Linked DNA regions of Homo sapiens: regions 1 and 3 are each linked to region 2. Evidence: promoter capture Hi-C in 16 types of primary human blood cells and fetal thymus (Javierre and others, 2016). All regions are on one chromosome and are shown on one strand. The core of a region is centred on a gene start or on the middle of the fragment in contact, and the rest is flanking DNA. Distances in the headings are between cores, read along the strand shown.

Region 1 (3,512 bases), core at 916-3,415, 260 kb after region 2:
CCAGACTCTAGCCAGTACCCATGGTCTGAACCTCCAAGCTCACTCTGACCCCAACCTAAATCCTGCAGCCCCAGGACTCAGGCCAGCCCTGCGAACTCAGTCTTCAGCCTCCTACAGCACTATTTCAGCCTCAGTGAACCCATGATCCAGACCAGACCGAGTGCCAAACTGGACCAAGTGGCACTGGGCTTGAGGCCCATCCTAGCAGCAAGCTGGCTTCAATAGCACTGGGCTTCATGCCTACTGAAGTGCCTGAAGAAGCCTGCATCAGTGGTGTAGAGCCCTGCAGATTCTGGCTCAAGGTTTCCCCCAGCACAGACCTGCCCACTGGTTGTCCTAGGCACCAGACTAGCCTGCTTGAGGACTCTAGCAGCAAGCCTGCCCTTGTACCATGCCAGATGGCCATCTTAGAATCTTTAAATAGGGTGAAAGGCTTTCCCAGACAAAGTCAGCCTGCAAAGACTAGAATAGTTTCTACTTTCTCAAATGTACAGACATAAATGTAAGGCAACAAGAAACATAAAAACCAAAGAGACACAACATGACCAAAAGAACACAATAATCTCCCCATAGCAGACCCCAAAGTAATGGAGATAACAAACTGCCTTATGCAGAATTCAAAATAATTGTTTTAAGGAATCTCAGCAAACCTTAAGAAAATATAGGAAACAATTCACTAAAATTAGGGAGACAATAAATGACCAAAATGAGAAAGTTTAACAGAGATATTGAAATTATTTAAAAAATCAAACAAATTCTGGAGCTGAAAAATACAATGAATGAAATTTAAAAAGGCATCAGAGAGCATCAACAGCAGAATTGATCATGCAGAAGAAAGAATATGAACTCAAAGACAGGTTATTTGAAATACAATCAGAGAAGAAAAAGAAAAGAGAATGAAAAGTCATGAAGAAAGCTTACAGGATTTATGAAACACACCAAAAGAGCAAATATTTGAATCACAGGAATTCATAAAAGGGAAGAGAAAGACAAAAGTAGAAAGTTAATTTAAAGAGATAATAGTATAAAGCTTTGCCAATCTGGTGAAAGACATAAATTTCCAGGTACAAGAAGGTCAATGGTCTCCAATCAGATTCAGTGCAAACACGACTACACCAAAACATACTATAATCAAGCTGTCAAGATTCAAGGACAAAGAGAGAATCCTGAAAGCAACAAAAGAAAAGAAGCAACTAACATATGAGGGAGTTTTAATAAGGACAACAGTGGACTTTTTAGCACAAACCTTACAGATAAGGAGAGAATGAGATGAAACATTCAAAGTGCCAAAGGAAGAAAAAGAAACCTGACAACCAAGAATACTTTTCTTGGCAAAGCTGTCTTTCAGAAATAAAGGAGAGATAAAGACCGTCCCGGGAAAACAAAAGATGAATACATTCATTACCACCAGACCTGTCTTACAAGAAATGCTCAAGCTGAAAGAAGTAAATGCTAACTAATAATATAAAAATATAAGAAAGTATAAAACTAACTGGTAAAGTAAATATATAGTCAAAAAATAGTAGCTACAATAATTTTTTAGAGTATACACTATATAAAACTTGTAAACTCTGACATCAAACATTTTAAATGAGGGAGCAAAGTAAAAGTGCAGTTTTTGTAGGCAATCAAAATTAAGTTGTTATCAGCTTAAAATAGCCTGTTATAAGATGTTTTGTGTAAACTTCATGTTAACCACAAAGCAAAAACTTACAGTGATTACACAAAAGATAAAGAGGAATCAAAGTGTATCACTAGAGAAAATCACCTAATCACAAAGGAAGACAGTAAGAGAGAAAGAAAGGAATAAAGAATCTACAGACAACCAGAAAACAATAAACAAAATGGTTTTAGAAAGTACTTACCTATCAGTAATTATATTAAGTGTAAATAAATTAAATTCTCCAATCAAAAGACATAGAGTGGCTGAATGAATTTAAAAATCATGAACCAAGTATATGTGGCTTGCAAGACACTCACTTCACTTTTAAGGAAACACATAGACTGAAAGTGAAAAGATAGAAAAAGATATTTCATGCAAATGGAAATGAAAGAAAGAAAGCACAGGTGTACTTACGTCAGATGAGATACAGTTTGAATCAAATAATATAAAACAAGGCAAAAAAGGTCATGATAAAACCAGGCATGGTGGCTTACATCTGTAATCCCAACACTTTGGGAGGCTGAGGTGAAAGTATTGCTTGAGCCCAGAAGTTTGAGACCTGCCTGGGCAACATAAGGCAATCCTGTCTCTATAAATAACTAAAAAAAATTAGTCAGATGTGATGGTACATGCCTGTCATCTCAGCTACTTGGGGGGATTGCCTGAGCCCAGGAGGTTGAGGCTGCAGCGAGCCATGATTGCACTAGTGCACTCCAGTCTGGGTGACAGAGCAAGACCCTGTCTCCAAAACAAAAACTAAAACAAAAAACAAAAGAAACAAAAAGAAAGAAAGAAAATAAGAAGGTCATTATGTAATGATGAAGGAGTCAACTTATCAAGATGATATAACAATTGTAAACATATGCACCCAATATTTGAGCAACTAAATATATAAAACAAATATTAATAGATCTGAAGGAAAGAGAGACTAATACAATAATACTAGGGGACTTCAACACCCTACCTTCAGCAGTGGACAGATTGTCCAGGGAGAAAATCAATAAGAACACATCAAACTTAAACTATACTTTAGACCAAGAGGACCTAAAAGGCATATATAGAATATTTTATCTACAAGCAGAAAAGTACCATTCTTCTCAATTGTACATGAGACATTCTACAGGATACATCATATGTTAGGCTACAAAACAAGTTTTAACAAAGTAAAGAAGGCTGAAGTTATATCAGATATACTTTCTGACCACAATGATATGAAATTAGAAATCAATAACGAGGAATTTTGAAAAATTTGCAAATACATGGAAATTAAGTACACTCCCAAATAACCAATGGGTCAATGAAGAAATTAAAGGGAAAAAATTTTTTAAATCTTGAGACAAATGAAGATAGAAATGTAACATATCAAAACTTATGGGATATAGCAAAAGCAGTTACAAGAGGGGAAGTTTATAGCAATAAACACAAGAATACATAAAGAAAGAAGAAAGATCTCAAACAACCTAATGTTACACCTCAAGAAACCAGACAAAGAAGAAAAACTAAGGCAAAAATTAGCAGAAAGAAGGAAACAATAAATATCAGATCAGAAATAAATGAGTTCAAAACTAGAAAAAAATGAGATCAACAAAACAAAGCACTGGCTTTTTGAAAAAATAAACAAAATTGAGAAAGCTTTAGCTAGACTAAGAAAAAAGAGAAAACACTCAAATGAATAAAATCAGAAATGAAAGAGGAGACACTACCTTTCTCATACCACATATATACAAAGAATCATAAGACACTGCTATAAACAATTTAATGCCAACAAATTGGATAACCTAGAAGAAATGGATAAATTCCTAAACACACACAGCCTACCAAGACTGAATAACAAAGAAACAGGAAAATC
Region 2 (3,829 bases), core at 899-3,398:
CCCTGAATTTTGGAAGCTTTGACAAAGATCATGTATTATTTTGAAAAGCAGAAAATTTTTAAACTGCAAAAAGGTGGCATTCACTTGTCATACACGCAAACAAGTGCAAGCTTACAAAACTTAGGCCCTAAGCTGCTTTCACAGATCGTATATTCTAGATTTCGAATACAGCTGCTAATTACTTCCTAACAATTTGAACAAACTACAAAATAAAGCTAAACACTTTCACTTCTGGCTCTACTATAAAGATTTCATAATAAAATAAAATATAAAAACAAAGTTTTACCTTTCTGTAAAAGGTCTACGTCTGGCTTTCTACAGCAGAATATTACTAACCATTTTTTAAAAATCATCAATTTATGTTATTTTACACAAATGCCACCTCAAAGAATGTAGGTTTAGCTTAGTAATTCCAAAGTACATACGCCTAATACAAAGTGCAAGAAGTTTTTATGCACTGTAGCGAACGCACAAATAGAAACACCTTCTGTGTGCAGATGAGCTTATTTTATAGACACCTTTCCATTACCTCTTAAGAGCCTGATATCTAATGAAGCTTTCTGCAAAGGTACTTTGCTTAGCCTGGGCATGGATTTACTTGATTATCTGGGAAGCTGTCAAAATCGATCTGAAACTGCATTACATTCAAGGCACAGAATGTCAACTCCTGACTGGGCCTCCTCCTCTCTCCTTTCACAAGAGCGCCTTTAATATCCCCTAGCCTACATTTCCGGGCTCATGAGTCACTGAGAAATGAGCTCTAAGTTTCTCTTAGAATGCTGCTCAAATAGCTCCTCTACAGCATTCAAGGATCTGGCCCCAAAATACCTCTTTAGCCCAATACCCCCCGCCCCCTGCACCATGCCAACAAACGGAATTATCCATGATTTCTAGGCTTTGTCTTCTCGCTTTTGCTACCCCTTCCACACACCTCTTCTGCAATCCTCCTCTCCTAAATCCCATCAGGCCTTCAAGACTCTGCTCAGCATCCCCCGCCCAGGAAGCCTTCCAGGTTTCTGCGAGGCAGAAGTGATCGGTTCGGTTTTTCCGGGTGCCGTTCTAGCACTCCGTCGTTCTTTCACAGGACTTATCACCTCCTTCCCGGTATCGCAGTTATTTGTGTTCTCGTCTTATCTCTCACACCAGAGCCTAAGCTCCTCGGGGGAGGGGACCGGGGCCCGCTTCACCTTTGAATCCCTCCGGTGCGGGCCGACTACGGCGCCTGCACGCAGTCTGCGCTTGGGGTGGTTCCATTGAACTCCAGAACGCTCCGACCGCCCAATTCCTAACCAGAAATCAGTTAGGCATTTTCCTGAATTGGTCACAAAGCTGGTATCTGCCTCCCGACAACAGGAAGTTTACCAGGGGCGGGAGCGAGGCGCTGAAGCCCGGGTGCAGCCGGTGACAGTTGACCCGGCCCGCACTTCCCCGCCCGCCCGACTCCGGCCCGGACCACCACGCGCCGCCAGCCCCGCCAGAGAACCACGGGGGGAGAGGCAGGAGCGCCTGGACTGCAGGCCCCCGGGCGCCCCACGCCGGCGAAGGCAAAGGGAGCGTCTCAGCGAGGGACCGGAGCCGAGCCGGGCGGAGAGGGCAGGCTGGGCCCGGCTGCTCCCGGGGGCTCCGGGGACAAGCTGGGCCGGGGCCGCCGCCACCCAGGAAAATGGAGGCAGCCCCGGGGCCGGTGAGGGCCCAGCGGGGCAGGCGGAAGCCGGGCAGGCGTCCGCACCACGAGCAGGGCCGGCCGGGGGTCACTCACGGGGCTGGGCCGGGCGTTCCCTTCTCTGCCTCCGCGTCGTCGCTGTCCCCGTCCTCGGCCGCCGCCGCTTCGGGCTGCTCGTTCGGTCCCCGCGGAGTGGCTCGGACGCTCGGCCCCTCCGTTGTCTTCCGCCCGCTCCTGCTCCCGGCGACGGGCTCCCGCGGCGGCGGCGGCTGCGCGGGCGGACGGCTGCCCAGGGGCTCCCGCGGCTGCCGCCGCGCTGCTGCGCTCGCTTGGGCTGCGGCTGCTGCTGTGGGGCCCGGCGCCGCCTTAGTCTTCGCCTGTGCCCCCGCCCCGGCGCCTGAAGGCTCTGTGTCTCCCAGGCCGCGCCGCTCCCCGAACCCCTCGCCCCGCTTGCGGCCCGAGCCCGGCTTTGACGTGCGCACTGCGCAGCCGCCGAGGACGCGACGTCGGGCGGTGCCGCAACGCCCCCTTCCGCCTCGGGCGCCCCCGAGCGGCCGGCGGACTCAGGGCGCCGCAAGTAGGCGCGAGGCCCGAGCGGGAGGGGCCGCAGAGAAAAGCAGAAGCCAAGCCCCGCAGTTCCTCTTCCTCCGCCGCAGCTTCCAAGGCGGGGCTCAGCCCTTTCTCCTCCGCCTGAGCGCTCTTACTGCGGGAATCGCACGCCCACTTTCAACGACCACTTCCTCAACTCTTCAAGCTTAATTCTGCGAGAGGCCGGGATCCCACTTTGTGCAGACCGATTCTTACTTTCTTGGAGCAGATCGCTTCATTTTAGCATCCAGGGGGACACAGCATCCAGGGGGACAAGTGCCAGAACGTTCCAGATTAATGGGAATATTCCTATTTAAATCAGCAACCTGGATTTAAGTCCTGCTCCACCATTTGCTATCTATGGGCTGTTTCACGTCCCTGTGCCTGGATTTCCTCACACATTAAAAAAAAAAGTGTGTAATAATATAGTGGTACCAGCCACGGGCTTCTGAGGATGAACGGGACAGTGCATTGCAAAGCTCTGACAACGGAGCCTGGCACATACAAATGCCATATGTGTGTATTTTTGTTTCTTTGTTTTTAATGTGTAACTGAACTACTTTTTAAGCGCCTCCTGTACGTCAGGGATGGGGCAGTGAGCGAAACAGTCCATGCTCCTAGCACAAACAGTTGACAAATAATTGACTAATAAACCTACAGGTATGTATAATACTGGACAATTGGGCCAGGCGCGGTGGCTCACGCCTGTAATCCCAGCACTTTGGGAGGCCGAGGTGGGCGGATCACGAGGTCAGGAGTTCAAGACCAGCCTGGCCAACACCGTGAAACCCCATCTCTACTAAAAATACAAAAAACAATTAGCCGGGCGTGGTGGCGGGCGTCTGTATTCCCAGGTACTTAGGAGGCTGAGGCAGGAGAATCGCTTGAACCCGGGAGGCGGAGGTTACAGTGAGCCGAGATCGCGCCACTGCACTCCAGCCTGGGCGACGCAGCGAGACTATCTCCAAAAAACAAAAACAAAACAAACAAAAAACAACAACAAAAAAACAAATACTGGACAGTTAAAAACACCACTGGGTGAGGAGGGGAGAGAAAGCAGGGTGTTGTTATTTACAGTGTTCATTCAGGGAGCAGCTTCCTGGAGAGAGAGAGCCTGGGAGCTTTCTGTATGGAAAGGCAGAGGGAATAGCAGGACCAAGGCCCTGAGGCGAGAATCTGCTGGCTTGAAAGCGGCCCCAGATAGGGGAAGAGATGAGGAAGAAGTGCGGCCCTACCAACCAAAGTTAGGACTTCCTGTTTTTACTCTCAAGGAGATGGGAAGCAATTTGAAGGGTTGCGAGCAGAGAAAGGACGTGGAATGACATTTCAGGAGGATCCCTGTGGCTGTGGTATGAGGACCAGACTGAAAGCCCTGAGGGTTTCAGCAGGGGGACCAGCGAGAAGCCTGTTGAAATCAGCCAGCCAAAAGATAAGACTGTCCGGCCGGGCGTGGTGGCTCGCACCTGTAACCCCAGCACTTTGGAAGGCCGAAGCAGGGGGATCACCTGAGGTCAGGAGTTCGAGACCAGTCTGACCAGTATGTTGAAACCCCGTCTCTACTACAAATACAAAAATAAC
Region 3 (3,592 bases), core at 839-3,338, 280 kb after region 2:
AAGTGCCAGGTGAAGGCGGAAGAGGCCCTTATACCATCAGATCTCATGAGAACTCACTCATTATCATGAGAACAGAATGGGTGAAATTGCCCCATGATTCAATTACCTCCATCTGGTCTCTCCCTTAACACCTGGAGATTACGGGGATTACAATTCAAGATGAGATTTTGGGTGGGGACACAGCAAAACCATATGAGAGTATGAATAGAAAATAGATATATAAAACTTATAGCTTTTATTTGGAACGACATACATTGAAAAAAATACTCAGACTCAATAGCAAATACAAATGTATGTATTTATAAACATCTGAAAGGTATGAGACTTGTATGAAGAAAACTATAAAAATCTTATTGAAGAAAATTAAATAAGATCTAAATAAACAGAGATTATGAAAGGCCTCCAATTACAAAAAAGGTAGTAGTTTTAAAACATCCATTATTCTGAAATTATTATGTAAGTATAGTGCACTTGCAACCTGGAACCCCATTGAAACTGGATAAAATATTCCTGCATTAGTTTGCTAAGGATAATGGCCTCCAGCTTCATCCATGTCCCTGCAAAGGACATGATCTCATTCCTTTTTTATGGCTGCATAGTATTTCATAGTGTATATGTACCACATTTTCTTTCTCTAGTCTATAATTGATGGCGATTTAGGTTGATTCCATGTTTTTGCTATTGTGAATAGTGCTGACTGCATGTTCTCACTTATAAGTGGGAGCTAAATGATGAGAACACATGGACACAGGAGGAACAATGCACACTTGGGTGTTTCAGAGGGTGGGGGCTGGGAGGAGGGAGAGGATCAGGAAGAAGAGCTAGTGAATGCTTGTCTTAACACCTGTGTGATGGAATGAATCACACAGCGAATCACCATGGCACACTTTTGCCTGTGTAACAAATCTGCATATCCTGCACATGTACCCCCGAACTTAAATAAAAGTTGGAAAAAAAGCTGAATCAAATAATGTAAATATTTAAATGACAGAACAAATATCTGAGTCAGACAAAAAACATTTGAGAAGAGAATAGTTAAAGGAAGATTTCTCTTAATAGGTTAAAATGTTTTTAAAAAGCAATACAGATATAAAAGAGTGTAGAAAAGCATTTTCAATATATATGACAAAGGGTTAATATATCTGATATTAATGGGCAAAGACTACAGTCTATTAATAAAAAGCAACAAATAACTCCTCCAAAATGGACCTGAACAGGCAGCTTAAATAAGAGAAAATGAAAATGTCTAATAAACATATGAATACATAAAAACTAAAATATCAATGAGAAACCATTTCTCACCCATTAGATTGGCAAACACAATTTCATTAGTGACACTATGTCACGAGGGAGAAGATTCAGAAAAACAGACACTTACTCATCCCTGGTGTAAGCATGAATTACTACAGCCTTTTCAGAAAAGATGTGGCAACATCTACTAAATTTTAAGATATACTACAGACTGACCATGCAGATCCACTTTTGGAATCTATCGTATAGAAATAAAAAGACAACATCCATCTTATAAAAACAAGAACTGCAGAACTTTCAATGCTCCCAATTTCTTCATGAGTGAAAGCCAGATCCTTACACTGTTCAAAGGGTCTGAAATGATACATCCTTTGCTCCTCTCCTTTTGCTCATGTCTGTCGGGCCACACTCGCCTCTGCTGTTTCTTGACTACACCAGAGATTCTCTAGCCTTAGGGACTTGATACTGGCTATTTTCTCTACTTAGCATAGACACATATATCTATGTAGTGAACTAACTCCCTTGTCTCTTTTAGATCCTTGCTTCACTATCACCTTCTCAATGAGGCCTGCTTTGACCAACCTATCTAAAAATCACAATCACAATCCCCTTAGCCTGCCCCCACACTCCCAAGCTCCTAATCTGCCTCTATTTTTTTTTCTCATGCCCTTACTACTCCCTAACATGCTAAATGAATTACTTATTTGTGTATTTATTGTTTATCATATTCTTTATTGTCTCTTTTCCCCCAAAAATATATATGCCATGAGGGCAGAGATTTTGTCTGTTTTGTCCACTGATTTTTCTTGAGTATCTGATATATACAAGGTGTTCCATAAATATTTGTTGATTAGATGCTCATAAATGCAAAATTTTTGTTGAAGCATTGTTTTTACCAGCAAAAACCCCTCAACAATAACACATACTCCTCAACCTGAAAACAACCTAATTGTGTATTCAGCTGACTGGTTAAGTACATTATTGTAAATATACACTGTTGAACTATTACATAGCTATTTAATTCTAGTAATTTGGATAGACAGTCATAGTTTTGTTGTTCAGTGAAAACATCATGTTTAGATCAATATATTATGATCTAATTTTTATATAAATTAAACTAAAAAAGTCTTTCATTTGTATATAAAATTCAGAATAAATGTTAGGGAAGGCATGGAACCACTACACCCCAGGTGTCAACACTGGCTTAGTGGACAGTTTCAGGGTTCTAACCAGGTCCCTTCAGATCTTTCTTTTACCATTTTTTAGGTAATATCAGAGAAAAGAAATAATACAGTAAACAGAACAAGATTTTGAGTAAGTATATTTAATAACCCCATAACTTATTTAATAATATTGAGACCTAATAAGTTATGGGGTTATTAAATATACTTACTCAAAAGTCTATGACTCAATATTAGGTCAATATTATTCAATAATATTGAATAAGTTATGAATAATATTCAACCAACTAGGAAACTTAGGAATTTAAAAGTCGAGTTTGCAAATTCAAAAATAAAGGTAGGCAAAATAATAAAACATTTAAAAATAAATTGAACAAACAGAATGCAAGACTTGTATGTTGAAAATGGCAAAACATTGATGAGAGAAATTAAAGATCAAAATAGTGATGCCAATGTTCATGGATTGAAAGACTCAATATGTTTAACATGGTAATTCTCTCCAAATTGATCTAGAGACTCAGTATGATTCCTATCAAAATCTCCAATGGCCTTTTGCAGAAATTGAGAAGCTGATCCTAAAATTTACATGGAATTGCAAAGAACCCAGAATATCCAAAACAGTCTTGAAAAAGAAGAAAAAAGTTGGAAGACTTATACTTTGTGATTTCAACACTTACTATAAAGCTGCATGAATCAAGACAGTACTGGCATAAATATATATAAAAATCAATACAACAGAACTGAGAGTGCAGAAATAAATCCTTAGGTTTTTGGTCAATTGATTTTCAACAAAAGTGCCAAGGCAATTAAATGAGGAAAAGATAGTCTTTTCAACAAATAGTACTAGTATAACTGGATAGGCACATGCAAAAATATGAAATTAGACCCTTACCTCACACCATATGCATAAATCAACTCAAAATGGATCATGCATCTCTAAATGTAAAAGCAGGGATGGCTTTATGGGCATGCATCCTGTGCAGTCACAAAAGACTCTGTGCTTAGTTTAGTGTTCTGCTTTCACTGTTTTGAAATCCTTAATAATTTTTGAACAAGGATCCCCCCATTTTCATTTTTCACTGCGTTTCCCAAATTATGCAGTAGTCTTGTAAAACAGCAAAAATGATAAGACTTTTGGAAGAAAACACAGGAAAAATCTT

Evidence for each region. The method cuts DNA at HindIII sites, captures the fragments that hold promoters and counts their contacts. A CHiCAGO score of 5 or more calls a contact.
Region 1: a fragment that was not itself captured here is called in contact with the fragment with the promoter of CAB39 in region 2 in 1 of 17 cell types (total CD8 T cells); the score reaches 5.0 in total CD8 T cells.
Region 3: a fragment that was not itself captured here is called in contact with the fragment with the promoter of CAB39 in region 2 in 1 of 17 cell types (activated CD4 T cells); the score reaches 6.0 in activated CD4 T cells.

Annotation. Positions count from the first base shown.
Region 1 is chr2:230,453,989-230,457,500 of GRCh38, reverse strand. All of the region lies in intron 8 of SP100 (SP100 nuclear antigen), which reads right to left. All of the region lies in intron 3 of LOC101928816 (a long non-coding RNA gene), which reads left to right. Among named protein-coding and RNA genes, the nearest start is that of SP100, 40 kb to the right of the region's middle. The HindIII fragment of the contact is 2,265 bases long and covers 1,033-3,297 here.
Region 2 is chr2:230,711,161-230,714,989 of GRCh38, reverse strand. It overlaps CAB39 (calcium binding protein 39), which reads right to left and starts at 2,148. Exons shown (of 9, transcript NM_016289.4): 1 at 1,760-2,148. It overlaps LOC124907996 (formin-like protein 16), which reads left to right and starts at 1,664. Exons shown (of 4, transcript XM_047446832.1): 1 at 1,664-2,911. The coding sequence starts at 1,664. The coding sequence ends at 2,422. RefSeq lists a silencer at 1,437-2,376. The HindIII fragment of the contact is 1,861 bases long and covers 559-2,419 here.
Region 3 is chr2:230,432,920-230,436,511 of GRCh38, reverse strand. All of the region lies in intron 2 of SP100 (SP100 nuclear antigen), which reads right to left. Among named protein-coding and RNA genes, the nearest start is that of SP100, 19 kb to the right of the region's middle. The HindIII fragment of the contact is 4,820 bases long and covers 1-3,592 here.